Linked DNA regions of Homo sapiens: region 2 is linked to region 1. The links are contacts of gene promoters, found by promoter capture Hi-C in human tissues and cell types (Jung and others, 2019). All regions are on one chromosome and are shown on one strand. Each heading gives the region's core, a stretch centred on a gene start or on the middle of the fragment in contact. The rest is flanking DNA. Distances are from core to core; before and after follow the strand shown.

Region 1 (5,064 bases), core at 1,863-4,362:
CAAGCAGTCTTTGCCAATTTATGAGCAGAGTTAGTAGAGGAGTGAGCCTGAGGCCCTTTCAAGGCCCCCATTAGGGCTGATGTGGTCCTGAGATAACAAAGGAGCCTTATGGGGGCATGATGACTTCAAGATGCCCCTTTCTAGGAAGGTGAAACGATACAAGGATGAGCTTGCCTGGGGCAGTGGGAGGAGAGCCTGTGGTGCATACTAGTTAGGAGAGAAGATTCTCACCCCTCCACCACTACCTAGTGATGCGAACCCTGTTCTGGGCCTCAGTTTTCTTATCTGTAAAATGGGAATAAAAAAATCTTCCCTATACCTATATTCCTTACCCAATTGTCAGAAGCAAGTGCAGTTAGCAGCTTTAAAATGCACTACAGATCAAAAAGTGCTAAAAATAAAAATAACACTATTATGGAGAGACCATCTGTCTCCCCAGTGTCTACCACAAGGCAAAGTGTAAACAGAATGAAGATTTTCTGGCCTCAGGCCACTAGTTTAGAAGAGAAAGTTTTCCATTCTGAGCGGTGGGGAAGAAACCAGGGTGAGACGACTCTTCTCTGACAGCCCGCCACCTACCATATCCTCTGCCCCATTCCCCCAGCATCTCCAAGCCTTGAAGAAAGCCTAGAAGAGTGTGTCTGATGCCTTGAGTGATTATAGATCTGAGACCCAATCCTGCAGTTCTTCATTCAGATGCTTAGCTAGGTAGGCTTAGGCAAAGCAATTGCTTTTCTGCTCTATAAAATGGGGATACTAACACCTTCTTTTCTGTTTTGAGGGTTAAATGAGTTAATACATGCAAAGTGAGTGTTTTCTGAATGTTAAGGTCTTGTTGATATTATTTCAAAGTAATGGGGTCTCCTTCCCTCCAGCCTGGCTAGAGGGCAGCCCCCATGCACTGCTCGAAGGCAGGGATCCTTGTGAGTGGGGTACCAGCTCTTCCACACAGAGCAACTTCCTCCCCTTTGTGGCTTGTGAGATCACACTTGGGTCTCAGAAACAACTAACTGAGGAGACTCTGGAAGTCCCCAGCCACCTAGGGAAAGCTTGTTCTGTCTTTCTAATTCACCAACTTCTCACCGATGCTTTCTGCAACAGGTGAGGGGACACTGGCCACAGAAGGTGCAAGTCTGCCTTCCTCAGTGGGCCATGGAGTTCCACTGCGATTCTTGACTTCTCCCAGCTTTTTGCCCCTTCCAGCCTTGAAATGCTTCACTCACATGCCCAATAAATGGGATTGCCCACTAGGGAGGTGGAGGGGGCATGAAGAAAGTGTTCAGCTCACCCTCTGTGAGAGCCCAGACAGGTGGCTGCTGGGAAGGAGGAGCAGGGACCTATAAGGGTCAGGGGAAGGGCCCAGCACATGCTCCTGGGGTCCTGGGGCAGGCAGATTAACAGGTGAGGGGAAACAGAAGCTCTGTGGAGCCATCTTGGGGGAACTTTCTTACTGGAATGTTCCTCTGTGGTATATATGGCTGCTTGTGCTTGCAAGGAGGAGAGAGGGAGACAGCTCTTCCCTGTTTACTCCCACTCCCCAAAAAAGAGGTGGCCTATTTGGGACACTCTGGTGCTCCTTTTCCAGGACACAGTCCTTCTGCCCAGCTAACACTGCCGGAGTCTTGGGCTTAAAAATTACAGCAAAGCTCTCTCTCAGGCCCCTGATTCTCGAGCCCTGGTGGACCATCAGAATCTCCTGAAGTATTAAAACAAGATTCCTGGGTCTCGATTCAGTAGATCTGCAGTGAGAGCCGACATCTGTATTTTTAGTAAGCCCTCCACACTCCTCCCTCTCCAGCCCTTAGGTGACTGTGAAGATCAGCTGTGTGTGGGACCCCTGATCTCCCTACACCCCGCCTGCCTTGGGACAGACCCTCTCTATTAATAGAGAGGAATGAGCAGGGGAGCAGGAGAGGGGCCGCCCTTCAGTTTTCCCCTCCCCAACTGCTTAAGGAACTGCTGCCTTTTTTTTTTTTTCTCCTCTGCCACAGGACCTTTTGCCAACCTAAATGGTTGGAATAATTTCAGAACGGCTTTAAAGAAAAATATTTTTCTGGCTGCCTGCAGGAAAAAAAAATAAAAAAATGAACTGTCCCCAGAGCTGGGAATTAGGACCTTCAAGGATTGGGAACTGGGTCGCTTTCTTCTTTCTTTCCAAAAGCCAAGTGGTTTGGACCAGTGAGACAGAAATTGAAAGCTGCTGAGAAGACACTGTGCAGGTTGGAAAAAGCCGTTTTTCTCTCCCTCCTACCCAGTGAAGCCCTAAATAATGAAGAAACCCTTCCAGCTCCCGCTCTTGCTTATCTCCTCCCTATTCGGCCTGGACTTGGGATGCAAGATTTTCTTCTGGCTCTGCCATCTCAGTGGGAAAACGTACTTTATCTTTGCTCTTACAGCTAGGGAGGTGTGTGTGAGAGGGCGAGAGACAAGATGCAGGGAACATGTGTGCATGCATGTGTGTGTGTGTCTGCTGGTGTCTGGTGATGATGTGGTCTAGCTCTGCATGTCAGATGCAGAGGGCAGAGGTGAATGGACAGGATGTCTTCATTTTGTATGGTCGTGTGGGGTGATGGTAGTGAACGTGCAGCCTCCGTGTGATGTGTGTGACTTCCACAATGTGTGACAATACACAAAAGGTGCAAAGAAATGGGTTCTGGAGTCCAGTTTCTATGGAAACACCTGATCTGTAGAAACACTTTGTGCAGCGTGGCTCTCTGTGCTACAACAAACATCTGCAGCAGGAAAGCTTAACTTTTGCAGTAAGCAAATATAGGGGTACAGAGTGATGAAAAGAAAAGGAAGAGGCTATAGGAAAGAAGTTAGGAAGACTAAATTTGAACTCATTTGAGAGGAGAAAGAGGTGGGAGGAAGGAAGGAGTGAGAGGATAGAGACTAGATCAATAAATGGACAGAGCTGGAGGAAACTTACTGGATGAAAGATTCTTCCCAGTCTCCTGCCCATCTCCCAACTGGGCTTACCTGCACACACCTGCCTCTCCTCTCAGCTCTGAGTTTAGTCCTCCTCTTCCACCCCCTCCCTTCGGCGGAGCTGTGGCAGCAGAGAGCCAGCTAGAAGATCTGATCTCCCAGTGGTGTGTGCGTGCTTGTGTTTGCCTGACTTTTCTTCCACCAGATCCTATTGGGGTGGGGAGGTTAGCTTGGGGGGAGGGAGGGGCAGATCATAGGGAGGGAGGGGAGGAGAGGAGGGAGGAGGGAGGGAGGGGAGGGGAGGAGAGAGGGAGGGAGCTTGGGAAAGGAGGAATGACAATAAAGTCTTTATTTGGCAGCCAAAACTCCCAAAGACTTCATCCACACACCATTCCCACTAACAGACTCATTTTTAATAACATTTCCTTCTGCTGCTGCCGCTTCTGGAGAGGGGTTGTTTGACCCATGTTTGGAAAACAAGCCAAATTAACAGAGTGAAAAGGCATGAAAAGCAACCTCTGTGTAAGCCAGGACTGGATGGCTGGGTCCAGCACTAGCCTGTTTAATTCCTCCTAACAATCGCCTTGCCTTCTGGGGCCGTTGCTCGGTAGTGTTAAATTCCTAAACCAGTGAGGGGTTTGGGATGCTTCCTCTGAGCAGTGACAGTCTTTCCCTAAGTTATCTTCTCCAGGAGGTTGCAAAGGGAGTGGAGTCTCAGGCTGGCATAGGAGATAACTTCGGTTTGGCTGCCAGGGCTGTTCTGAGAACCAGAGAGGGAGAAGTCTGGCCTGAGTTGCACAGCAAAGTTAAGGCAGAATTAAGATTTAATGTAAGACCTAAAGTCACTGTTCCTAGCTCATGTGGACAATGTAGTGGCTTCTTTCAGCTTCTCCATATCACACTTAGGTGAGATTTAGGGGCTGTGTGGTCATCACACAAAGTGATGGGAAATCCAAATTTCCCCTGTGCACATCAACACCCCAGAAGACCCAGTCAAGTAACACCACTACCTCTAACAATCCTCTAACAATGCCCCTCAATTAAGAAAGCACAACACACTTGCAGGTAAGTAGATGCCCATCAAAATTTCCTGCCATGGCCAGGCACAGTGGCTCACGCCTGTAATCCCAGTACTGTGGGAGGCAGAGGCAGGCGGATCACCTGAGGTCAGGAGTTTGAGGCCAACCTGGCCAACATGGTGAAACCCTGTCTGTACTAAAAATACAAAAAAATTAGCTGGGTGTGGTGGCGGGCATCTGTAGTCCCAGCTACTAGGGAGGCTGAGGCAGGAGAATTGCTTGAACCTGGGAGGCAAAGCTTGCAGTGAGCCAAGATCGTGCCACTGCACTCCAGCCTGGGCAACAAGAGCGTGACTCTGTCTCAAAAAATAAATAAGTAAATAAAATAAATAAATTCCTGCCATCCCAGCTGACTACTTAGAAAATGCAACGCAATTTTCTTCTCCATTATTGGTTCCATGGAGAGCTGCAGAGCCCCATGACAGGGGACTGCCTGCCTGCCCTCCGCAATATGGGGTAGAGGAGAGAACATTAAAATTAGGGTCTGCAGCCCTGGGCTCAGCCACCCACAAGCTATGGTCTTAGGTGAATCACTTGATCATGAGGACCTTCAGTTTCCTCATTTACAAAATATGGATAATATTGACCTCACAGGGTTGGGAAGATTAAATATTGTAAATGTGAGAGCACTTTATAAACTGGGAAGATATTAGGGTTTAGGAAAGGGATTGCGATGAATGGTAATTAGCCTAAGAAAAGGAGAAGGAAAAATAAAACCCAGACCTTTCTCCAACCCCCTTCCACCCCAGATCTCATGGCTTCACGCCCTGCTGGTGAGGTCTTGCTGGAAGACAGCACGGTTCCTCTCCAGGTTCACATTAACTGTGGCTCTGCCAGGCTGCTCATGTGCTTCATTTCTCATCCAGATGGGATATGGCGTCTTCTGCAGGCCGGGAACATCAGACGCCAGATTTGCTTGTTTCCCTTGGTATGGTGGGTGGTAGATGATAGAGGGCAAAAAAGACTGGCTGGGCACGGAGACTCATGTCTGTAATCCCAGCACTATGGGAGACGAAGGCAGAAGATTAATGGAGCCCAGGAGTTCGAGACCAGCCTG
Region 2 (5,064 bases), core at 1,000-3,499, 150 kb before region 1:
CAGTTAATCACACCCCCATACCCACACACCCACTAGCATTGTGCAACAGTGCCACCCATAGATTTTGCATAGAACTTTATGGCTTTCAAGCACAAACATGCACCATCAGCTGGTTCACACAACATATCTTCATTGACTGACAGATTCCCACACCTACCTCAGCAAACACACTCATGTTTATATGCTTATGGAAGGCACATTGACATATGTCTCACAGGTTATAGCTATGAGCTATGCTGTGAAGAAGGTGACTGGCCACTACTTCCCAACCTTTTAAACAGAGGGTTGGGAAAAGGCCTCTTTGATCCTATCATTCTAACCCAACAGCTCACACCACCCCCTGTCCTTCTTTGCTGTCATCTCTGCCCCCAAGAAGCAGAGCCACATGTGCATGGAGAAACAGGGTTGTGAAACGGGGTCCAGTTTCCCCCGTGTCCAACTAGCACCCTTCCCAATGTTCTCTCATTTGGGTCCTCTTTTTCCTCTTCATTTTCTTACCCTGCTATTTCTTTTTTCTTTATGGTTTTTTTTTTTTTTTTTGAGACGGAGTCTTGCTCTGTTGCCCAGGCTGGAGTGCAGTGGCGTGATCTCGGCTCACTGCAAGCTCCGCCTCCGGGGTTCACGCCATTCTCCTGCCTCAGCCTCCCGAGTAGCTGGGACTACAGGCCCCTGCCACCACGCCCGGCTAATTTTGTTTTTGTATTTTTAGTAGAGACGGGGTTTCACCATGTTAGCCAGAATGGTCTCGATCTCCTGACCTCATGATCTGCCCGCCTCGGCCTCCCAAAGTGCTGGGATTACAGGCGTGAGCCCCCGCACCCGGCCAGTAATGTTTTTAGACTGGTTGGGCTGGGCTCAGAACTCAGAGTTCATCAATGTGAGGCTGGAGATTGCCTGCTGTCATCTGAAAACAAAATCCAAAATAAGCCCTGGCTAGGCACAGTGGCTCATCCGTGTAATTCCAGTACTTTGGGAGGCTGAGGAGGGAGGATCACTTGGGGCCAGATTTCAAGACCAGCCTGGGCAACATAGCAAGACCCACCCCATCTCTACAAAAAAATTAAAAACAAGAGAAAAAAAATAAGCCCCTGCCTGTGCTTGTGCCTCTCCCTGCCAGCAGCCGAAGAAAGTTGCAGGGGTAAGGGGAGATTTTAGGGTCACCCTCTATGGGAACTATGGATTGTTTGGTCTTTTTTGTCTAGTGATTGACTGTCTGACACTCAAGGCACTTACAGGACACTAAAGGTGACCTTTGTTCTCATTTCAGCCTCTTGCAACTCCTCTAGTCACTCCCACCTTCCCAGGGCATTTCAAGAACAGTTAGTACCTTGTTAGATTCCTTCCTTCCTCCCTCCCTCTTCCCTCCCTCTTCCATTCCCTCCCTCTTCCCTTCCCTCCCTCTTCCCTTCCCTCCTTTTTCCCTCCCCTTCCCTCCTTTTCCCTCCCCTTCCCTTCCCTTCCCTTCCTTTCTCCCTTTCTTTCCCCTTCCTTCCTTCCATCTCCCTTCCTTCCTTCCCTCCCTCTACCTTCCTTCCTTCCTCCCTCCCTCTTTCTTTCTTTCTTTCTTTCTTTCTTTCTTTCTTTCTTTCTTTCTTTCTTTCTTTCTTTCTTTCCTTCCTTCCTTCCTTCCTTCCTTCTTTCTTTCTTTCTTTCTCTCTTTCTTTCTCTTTCTTTCTTTTTCTCTTCCTTTTTTCCGTCCTTCCTTCCTCTCTTCCTTCCTCCCTCCCTTCCCTCCTCCCTTTCCTTCCTTCCTTCCTTCTTCCTTCCTTCTTTTTTTTCATTATGGGTCTCCCTGTGTTGCCCAAGTTGCTTTTAAACTCCTGACCTCAAGTGATCCTCTCGCCTCAGCCTTCCTAGAAACTGGGACTACGGGCACACCCTACAATGCACAGCACCCTTGTTAGATTTTGGTAGACCCTAGCAAAATATCAGCTTCAGGAGCCCAAATCAATTGTTGGGGAAGACATGAGAAAGAAAGGAAAAGAAATGAATCAGCTTAACAGAGCTGCAGATTTAATGGCTTGTCAGGCTCCCTGCTGGATGGCAACAACATGACATTTTAGCACCAATGAGTGTCAGTTGCATCTTTATCATAAGAAAGCCAGTCTCTGAAATGACTGTTTAAATGTATTAAAGTATATTTTAAGCTCGTCTGCAGTGGCTGTGTGTGGAGGCATTGCCTAACTGTTCAGTAAACTTGTCTTGGGGGAATGACAATTTAGGCCAGATGTATGGTCCCAATAAAGAAGAAGTCTGCTTTGGCTGCCTGTTTTGTGGGGACTGGGAAATGATACCCTTTCATAGCTGGTTATTATTGGAAAGGTAAGATCTTCCCCTCAAGCTCCCTGGATTCCAGGGAGACAGGCTCTGCCAGGGAGGTGCTGTCAAAAGAGGCTCTGATGGCTGTCCCACATCTGGCTGGCTAGGATTCAGGGGCAGGCCAGGTTTATGACTTCCAGGGTGGCTGTAGATCCTCCCCTTGACCGGCTGTGGGGTTGTGGGATGAGAAAAAAGGAATCCCCCTCCCACTCCATTCCCACCCCAGCTCTGCTGCAGACAGGAGGGAGGGATGTCGGGGGGTGGGTCAATGTGACCCCAGAGGAGCCGAGGGGACCATAGCCTGATCTCTGTCACTGAGCTGACCACTGAGGCCTGTGTTTTCTGGAAAGCTAGAAGCCTCAGTGCTTCGCTTCTTGCAGCGGCAGGTTTGAGGTCTAGAACGGGTAAAAATAAATCTATCCATAAAAATAACCACTAGATGTGGGAAAATGGAGTTGGCCCCCCTGGGGCAAGAAGGAGGACACTGCCTCTGGCATCAGAAGTTCATAGTCTGCCTGTTCTGCTCAGCTCTGAGCAGTCCTGTTTCCCTCTTCTCCCTGCTGTACTCTTGACTTTACAGGTTCCTGTTCTTTAGATCTAGCCTGGCTCTCCTCAGCCTCCTGAACTCCCCATAGCAGGTCAGTCTCTACAGGGCTTACATCACTGTGGACCCTGTCCCTACCCCATCTCTCACTTGAGGAAAATGCAGTCAGCACTGTCTCTCACTTAGGTGTTTAACAGAATGTGTTCCTCTGCCTCTTGATGACTCCACCTTGAGTTTTCCAAATCTTCCTCACCATTTCCTGTACCTCCCCCGAATGCAGACTGCATGACTCCCTGTTGTGAATATCTACCATTTTGCCTTGGCTAGAACAGCAGCCATTTTCCCCATGCCCGAACCCAGTTCTTTGGGACGTCCTTTCTTCTCACTGTTAAGATGGAAACTGGGCCAGGCATGGTGGCTCATGCCTGTAATCCCAGCACTTTGAGAGGCCGAGGTGGTTGGATCACTTGAGGTCAGGAGTTCAAGACCAGCCTGGGCAACATGGTGAAACCCCGTCTCTACCAAAAATACAAAACTTAGCTGGCACGGTGGTGCGCGCCTGTAGTCCCAGCTACTCGGGAGACTGAGGCAGGAGAATCGCTTGAAACCAGGTGATGGAGGTTGCAGTGAGCTGAGATTGCACCACTGTACTCCAGCCTGGGTGACAGAGTGAGACTCTGTATCAGTAAATAAATACATAAATAAAAATACAAAAAAAAATCACTGGGCATGCCTGTAATTCCAGGTACTCAGGAGGCTGAGGCCCGAGAATCACTTGAACCCCAGAGGCTGAGGTTGCAGTGAGCTGAGATCGTGCCACTGTACTCCAGCTTGGGTGACAGAGTGAGACTCCATCTCAAAACAAAACAAAACAAAACAAAAAACAACAATTGAAACTGACATTTTATTAGCAGTCCTAACCCCACCTGACCCAAGCTGAGCCAATTACATCCTTTCCTGAGAGTTTTGCACTTACGATTAAACAGAAAACAAGGCTTGGTCCCTGCTGTGACTACTGTGAAGAGATACTCTGGAAGTATCAGAGGTCAAGTATCTTATACTCTGGAAGTATCAGGGGTCAAGTTCCCTGCCCCATGGAAGAAGCCTGCAATAAAAAAGAATACAGCTCGCATGCAAGAGAGGCAGACGAGAAAGCTAAGGAGTGAGTGCCAGCAGCACTGGAGTTCGTTGTACCTCATATCCCACTGTACCCCTGCCTTTCCTACAAATGAGTTACATGACTCATTGTGCATGCCTACGCTAGATGAAACTAGGTTTTTTGGTCACTTGTACTAAGTAATGTAGAAATGTAGTGTAGAAAGTAATATAGAAAGTCTTTGAGCTACTAGCTACCATTTAGATTCAGTCATTTCTGTGCATTTTATTCATTCAGTTAAGTATCTCTGAACACCTACTATTCAATTTAGCATACATTTATTGAATGTCTACTGTTTCAACATCTACTGGGCCCAGATGAGGTATACAGAGGTAATAAGCTTATAGTTTAGTAGAAGGAAAAGATGCTTTCATAGCATGAGTAGCTACAATCAAAGATGCTATAATCTTTTAAATGTATTTACTGAATGCTTACTATGTGCTAGGTAGTACATATTAAAAGATGAAATATAAAATGCTAGGAAATGCTAGGGAGTGATTGCCTCAGATGGGAATATTAGAAGGCTCTAGGAAGGAGATAATATTTGCAAGTACCTGAAAAATCTTGAAAAGCAAGCTTTAAACTGTTTTGGATGGAGGCGGGGTTAGGGTGGGACATGAGCAAAGGTCTGGAGGTAGAAAGAATAGAGAACGAGGTGGGTGGGTTGCCTGAGGCCAGGAGTTCAAGCCTGGCCTGGGCAACATGGCAAAACCCCATCTCTAGTAAAAAAATTAGCTGGGTGTAGTGGTACACACCTGTAATCCCAGCTACTTGGGAGGCTGAGGCACAAGAATAGTTTGAACCCAGGAGGCAGAGTTTGCGGTGAGCCGAGATTGCACCACTGCACTCCAGTCTGGGTGACAGAGTGATAGTCTGTCTCAAAAAAAAAAAAAAAAGAAAAAAAAAAAGAAAAAGAAAAAAGAAAAAAGAGTAGAGGAGAAAGACTGGGGAGGTAGTTTGAGTTCAGTCAATGGAGGGCCCTGAGTGGCCTCACTGGGTCTGTGTTTAGTAAGCTGGCTGTGGCAGTAGTGTGTAGGGTAGACTG

What was found. The method cuts DNA at HindIII sites, captures the fragments that hold promoters and counts their contacts. A contact is called where the count stands out against the background at its distance.
Region 2: a contact is called between a fragment that was not itself captured here and the fragment with the promoter of PRELP in region 1, in 3 of the 25 tissues and cell types used here (H1 embryonic stem cells, IMR-90 fibroblasts and aorta).

Annotation. Positions count from the first base shown.
Region 1 is chr1:203,473,854-203,478,917 of GRCh38, reverse strand. PRELP (proline and arginine rich end leucine rich repeat protein) reads right to left here and starts at 3,112. Exons shown (of 3, transcript NM_002725.4): 1 at 2,980-3,112. The HindIII fragment of the contact is 3,589 bases long and covers 1,899-5,064 here.
Region 2 is chr1:203,620,803-203,625,866 of GRCh38, reverse strand. No RefSeq gene overlaps it. Among named protein-coding and RNA genes, the nearest start is that of ATP2B4, 3.5 kb to the left of the region's middle. RefSeq lists an enhancer at 1-41. The HindIII fragment of the contact is 5,394 bases long and covers 1-4,946 here.